Regions from separate parts of the Homo sapiens genome. Here region 2 is linked to region 1. Evidence: promoter capture Hi-C in 16 types of primary human blood cells and fetal thymus (Javierre and others, 2016). All regions are on one chromosome and are shown on one strand. The core of a region is centred on a gene start or on the middle of the fragment in contact, and the rest is flanking DNA. Distances in the headings are between cores, read along the strand shown. Region 1 holds the start of LACTB (lactamase beta). Region 2 holds the start of SNX22 (sorting nexin 22).

The links. The method cuts DNA at HindIII sites, captures the fragments that hold promoters and counts their contacts. A CHiCAGO score of 5 or more calls a contact.
Region 2: the fragment with the promoter of SNX22 here is called in contact with the fragment with the promoter of LACTB in region 1 in 1 of 17 cell types (activated CD4 T cells); the score reaches 5.4 in activated CD4 T cells.

Annotation. Positions count from the first base shown.
Region 1 is chr15:63,120,274-63,123,288 of GRCh38, reverse strand. It overlaps LACTB (lactamase beta), which reads right to left and starts at 1,428. Exons shown (of 6, transcript NM_032857.5): 1 at 1,061-1,428; 2 at 587-653. The coding sequence starts at 1,417. It overlaps LOC107984798 (a long non-coding RNA gene), which reads left to right and starts at 1,522. Exons shown (of 2, transcript XR_001751584.1): 1 at 1,522-2,549. RefSeq lists silencers at 670-859, 870-939, 960-1,539. The HindIII fragment of the contact is 2,300 bases long and covers 118-2,417 here.
Region 2 is chr15:64,149,964-64,153,189 of GRCh38, reverse strand. SNX22 (sorting nexin 22) reads right to left here and starts at 1,459. Exons shown (of 7, transcript NM_024798.3): 1 at 1,340-1,459; 2 at 864-947; 3 at 448-552. The coding sequence starts at 1,414. RefSeq lists silencers at 754-1,133, 1,334-1,773 and an enhancer at 2,691-2,800. The HindIII fragment of the contact is 12,291 bases long and covers 1-3,226 here.

The DNA.
Region 1 (3,015 bases), core at 179-2,678:
ATGGATTGTTCTACACAGTAGTTACCCCTTATCTGTGGTTTCGCTTTCCTCAGTTTCAGTTATCCATGGTCCGAAAGTATTAAATGGAAAATTCCAGAAATAAACAATTCGTAAGCTTTAAATTGCATGCCACTCAGAGTATTGTTGTGATTGTTCTATTTTATTATTGTTGCTAATCTCTTACTATGCCTGATTTATAAACTTTATCATAGATATGTATATATAAGATAAAATATAGTATATACAGGGTTCAATATCATCCACTTTTTCAGGCATCCACTGAGGGTCTTGGAATATATCCCCAGGATAAGGAGGGACTACTGTATAAAACTTTCAGACTAATAAATCCAGTCCTAAGAGAAAAGTGGGAGTGGGTAGCCATCCTCATGACTCCAATTTATTAGTCACATTTTAAACCTTACCGTGATTTAAAAACACCTGACTCTTTATTATGTTAGATGTTTTCTCTACAATATGCATCGTTTTATGTAAATGCAATAGCATTTCATGGGATCCACTCTAACCAGTAAAACAATATTTTATTTACCAACTGGCACAGAACAAAACAACAATTTTCTGAACCCACCTTCTGACCAGACTTCTTTTCCATCTACAGAAACTCCAACCACTATGCCCGGTGCGCCCACCTCATCCTAAGACCGAAGGGGAAAGAACCGACAGTTACGGGCCTGCTGAAAAAGCCCAGCGCTCTCCTCGGGGACCTTCCAAGGCCCCGCCCCCTGAGCCTGGGCCCCGCCCCCTCCACCTGGGCCCCGCCCACCTCGTCCCAGGCCATGGTCACTCACTAACAGCAAGGGATGTGCCTGTCCGCCCCCTAGGGGGAAGGGGCGGTCCCCGAGACAGGCGGTGACCTCCACCCAGATTTGGGGAACCCCCAAGAGCGTCTGACCACGGCTCGGCGGTGGGGAAATGGGAAGTCTTTCTCGGAAGCCGATCGCGGGCACCCCGCCGCCCCGGGTGGGGTCCACTCAGCCCCCGACAGCACCGCCGACAGGGGTGGATCCCCGGCCCCCTACGCCCCCCGCTCCAGTGGCCGCACCTTGATCCTGTGCAGCAGGTCGCGGCTGCTCTCGATGGCTCTGGCGAAGCACCTGGAGCAGGGCGGCGCCGGGGTCTGCGGAGACCACGGGGCGAGGGACTGCTCCTGTGGCGGCTCGGCCAGAGGCGACGCCTCAGGGTCGGGGGCCGCGGGGGACTGCGCCGGGGCCGCGCCCCTCAGCCCACCTGCCAGCTTCACCCCGAGCGCCAGCCCCAGCCCCAGCCCGAGGCCCCCGACCCAGCCGTGGCCGAGAGGCGGCAGCCCGGCGCGCTGATGGACCCCGCGTCGTCCGCAGCTTGAGGCCAAGCCCCCGGGGGCGGCAGCCCGGGCAGTCACTGCTGACATGAGCCGGTACATGGCGTCTCTGCACAGCCGGCCGCCACCAAACTCACGCACACCCTGCCAGCCGCGGCGCGGGGCGGAGGGAAGGGCAGGGGGCGGGACGGGGGTGGGGACCGCGGTCAGACCCTAGCAGTCGACGCCTGACTACCCGAGCGCCGATCGCATCGAGCCCTTCTTCCTCTCCCTTTTCTTGTCTCTTCCTTGTTTTTCCTTTCTGTCTCTCTTTCCTTTTTTTCCTTTGCTTACCCTCAGATCAAGCGTCACCTCCCAGAAGCCTTCCTAGTTCCCGTCCCATGGGAGTTCTCGCCCTTACCATCTTGCCCCTCAGTGTGCACACTTCTTTAACAACAGTTAACACTTTGTATCATTTAACTACTTGTCAGATTCCTTACCAGAGTGGGACTTCTTTGGGGAGCCTAGACTTAGTTTTGGATCCTCAACTTCTGGAACAGCGCAGGGCACACAGTAGACGCTCAGCAGGCATCTCCTTTCCCTTTAGAGATGCCTTTCTCCTTTCCTTTCCCTTTCTCCTTTCCCCCTTTAGAACGCGCTTCTTTTCACTCTCTTGCCATCTCCCTTATGTCTCATTTCAATTCACCCATTTCCCTAAAGATGTTTTAAAATCTATTGCTTCTGGAATTCTAGCTCCACACCGTACCAAAGACATGAAGTTACATCCAGACCTTATATTACCTTTCTTTTGCTATAAAAGATAAAGTGTTTTTTAAAAATTTCGTGCTTGAAAAATTTTAATCCAAAAGTAACTATTATAATTTACAATTACCTATGATTTCTCAGCATCTGTAAATGATCAGACATTCTTGTGAAATAAGAAACCTAATCTCAAATTGCTACAAAATGTAAAATGTGTATAAAATCCTAGTTTAACGTGTAATGAAATTGATATGTTAATTTGAAGTTACTTAAACATTTATCAGTTTTGTAATTTTTATATTTTGGGATACATACATACACACACACACACACACACACACACACACAATCTTTGAAAGCTTGTAGGCTTTATACCTTCAGCACTGGGGCAATATGCCCCATATACAAAATGGCCCTGTCTTTTCTTGCAGGTGGAATAAAGAAGAGAGCTCACAGACTTGAACTGACAAGCCATCAGGACAAACATATTGAGGTAATAAACTTACTGAGTAAACATATACATACCTCAAAATAAATATATTGAGGTAATAATTATTTAATAGGAGGAAAAGGCAATAATGGTATCCATACCTAGCAAGAAAATAGTGGGGCTAAATAAGTAAAGCTTCTGGGGCTACTCACAAAACCCAAGACTCCAAGAGACCAGAATATCCTAGGACCCAGAGCGTTTGACACTGAAACTGCAGTTATAGTGGACAGATGTACTCTATTAAGATAGTACTGGAGGTTCCCACGGTGGGGGTCACCACTACTCCAAGAACATGAGAGAAAAAATATAAAGAGAAAAATGTAAAAGACGCAGTCAGTGGTGGTTATGAGTGCCCACTTTTATTTAAACTGTACATAATTTTTCTTTAAACTGTACATATGTTACTGAAACACCAAGGGTTTAGCCTAGATCCCATTGCTCGCCACACAGAAAGCCAGTCACCAAGACA
Region 2 (3,226 bases), core at 210-2,709, 1.0 Mb before region 1:
AGTGCCAGTGAAAATGCAGGGCTCTTTGTTCCAAAAAAAGAATTTCACGACAATGACAGCAGAGCGTTGAACCAGGCTCAGGGCCCTTCTGGGCGCTGGGCGCTGTGTGCACAGGTTGTACCCCATGACGCGGCATAGCTTTGCTGTTGGGGGAAGGACCCTCACCCTACATGCCATCAGGAGGGCAGCACAGGACCTCACCATGGAGGGGACAGGACCTGGGTTTCATGGAGCTGGGACTACCTGTGTCCGTTACCTCTTTCAGTCCTTTCAACAAGCCAGAGGGGGGTGTTTGGACCTATATTAGACTCAGAAAATTGATGCTTGAGGTGGTGAATAACATCCCCAAGTTGTGGGTTCCCTCCCTGCCATGCCCCCACACCTCTCTGTCTGGGCCACACCCCTGGCACAGAAGGCCGGGGGGCAACCAACTGTGCTCTCGCATACCTGGATGTAAGCCTCCAAGCCCTGCCGGCGCTGTTCCAACCCTCTGGTCCTCCAGTTGGGCAGGCGTTTCGAGGGGAAGTCGGGCACTTTGTACAGCTTCTTGATCTACTGGAGGTTTACCGCGTGCGATCACAGCATCCCGACTGAGCCCTCAAGCCCTCTTCGCCCCAGCCAGAAGCCCTCCCGCGCCCCCGCCTTCGGGCTCTACTGGGACAGACCCTGGTGAGTGGTGGACCGGCCGAGGGCGAGGAAGGCCCCAACCCACCCACAGAGGCCCGGGGGCTGACCGGCTGCGCAGGGACTGAGGCAGTAATGGGGGTGGCGGAGGCTGGGGCTCGCCCGCCCGCCTCACAGGGCCTGGGCGGGGGCTGGACAGAGGCTGGGCCGGGGCCGGTGGGAGGTCGGCGCCGCCTCACCCGCTTGTGCAGCGCGTGGAACTCGCTGTAGCGCCTTGGCACCGTGTGTCTGCGCCCGCTGCACAGCACCTCCACTCGGAACACCTGGCGGCGCGGGCGGGCAGCGGGTCTGCGCGTGAGGCCCCGCGGGAGGACGCCGCAGCACCTGCGCCTGGCGACGTGCCCACCCTCCCGCTCTCAAAGGCACAAAGCGGCCTTGCGGCGCCGCGGCTGCCCGGGGACTCTCCGCTCCCGCACACCTGGGAGAACCGGCTGGCGGACCTGCCCCTCGGAGCCCTGGGGTCCCTCAAGAGCTCGAACCATGGTCCGCGAGGCTGGCAAATCCAAGCGGCCCCCAAACCCTCGACAAGGTTTCCCCCGACGGTCCAGCCCGCAGCGCTCGTTCACCCAGGCCCGGGCCCCGGGTCCCCACTGAGCGCAGCGCGGGGAAATCCTGCGGGTCCCGGCGCCCCTCCCCATCCAGGGGCCGCGCTCACCATGTGGCTTTTCTCCGGGCTCTGCCTGGGCCCCTCGGCCTCGGGCCCCACCGACGGGATGTGAACTTCCAGCATCCGCGCCCCGGCCCCAGCTGCTCCGCGCGCTCGGCTCGGAGCCCTAACTCTCCCGGAGCGGACTGAGGACCCCGGGGCGGCCGGCTCCGCCCCCTCGGTCCGCAGGCCCCACCCCAGGCCCCGCCCCCAGGCGACCCCGCCCCGGGCGTTCCCTTGCGCCGCGGGTCCTGAGCCTAGAAGATTAGGCGGGACCTGGACGCCGCCCCCGAAGTCTAGTGCGCCCACAGCGCGGGGCAGTGGAGTCAACCGTTTGTCAAACATTGACGGAGCACTCACTGATGCCAGGAACTGGCGAGCGAAAATGTCACCCAACCTGAGTTAAGCGCCTACCAAGGACGGCCTGTGGCTCCAGGCGCGGACGGAGGCGGGGCCCGGGCCTCAGCGCCGGTCCTGGGGCCAACCAGGGACCTGTCTTGGGTTCCTCAGTCCCTTCCCGAGCCTTTCCCTCCTTTCAGCCTGGTCCCTGAAATTGTGATCTGGATTCCCCGGCTGAGGCCACACCTGAGCAAGGCTTGGACCCAGTCCAGCTTTGATGCCCCTTTCCCCAGCATCCACAGGCCCCCCCATTCATTCATTGTTTTCATCCATCCATTCACTCATATCTTCCAACCCTAAGGGGCTCCAGGCTGTTTGTGGGGAAGAGGCAGTTTAGGGACCTAGACTCCGATTTGGACGTCAGACTGCCTGGATTTCAGGAGCTCCGTAGACCTTTGCTCATCTGCAAAATAGGGATAACGTGGCTCCTTCAGGCAAGTGTATAAAGTGAGATGATTTGGCCGGGCGCGGTGGCTCACGCCTGTAATCCCAGCACTTTGGGAGGCCGAGGTAGGCGGATCACCTGAGGTCAGGAGTTCGAGACCAGCCTGACCAACATGGTGAAACCCCGTACCTACTAAAAATACAAAAATCAACCAGGTGTGGTGGCACATGCCTGTAATCCCAGCTACTCAGGAGGCTGAGGCGGGAGAATCACTTGAACCTGAGAGGCGGAGGTTGCAGTGAGCCGAGATCAAACCATTGCACTCCAGACTGGGCAACAGCAAGACTCTGTCTTAAAAAAAAAAAAAAGTGAGATGATTCATGTTAGGCCCTTAACAGAAGCATTGAGCAGCAGCTTGACTGTGGGCTTCTCCTGGATGACTAGGATAAGTGGGCACAGGGCAGTGGATGGGAAGAGAGACTTTGGGGGGTGGCACCGGGTTGCTCTTGTCCACCCCTCCGGGCAGGTTCTTCCTGGATATGTGGCAGGATTTTGATCCAGAACTCTCTCAGGCCATGTGCTGGAAAGGACCTCTGCTCCCACCTCTCAGCCCTGCACCCTTCAGCTGTCGGAGAGCTGCTATCAGCAGCACCATGGCAGGTCCTCTACTCCACTGACTTCCCCCACAAAGGCCCCGTGACATGCAGAGAGGCGAGGCCCTGCCTTCCAAAGCTCATACGTAGTGGGAGGTCTTGGGGTGGGCAGGAGGAAGCAGAGTGCCTGTCTTCGGGGCTGGGGTTGAGGGGACTCACCCCTCCCCTGCTTCTGCAGAGACGCCTCTGAGCTGGAGCAAAAAACCTCCATCCCCAGCCCTGCCCCCAGAGAAGGGCTGAGATGACGACCCCAAAATGGGGCAAACAGGTCTCACCAATATCATGTCCCACATTCTCTTTTTCCAAATTGCATCACACAAGGACCACAGAATCAGGAAGCTGAAACTTCCCAGATTCTAGTGGGGTCCCCTAGAAGAAAAGCAGCCCAGAGTGAGGAGAAGTGCTGTGCTTTCATTTCCTCCCTACGGCCCCATCATTCAGGGACCCAGCTTTCCCTGG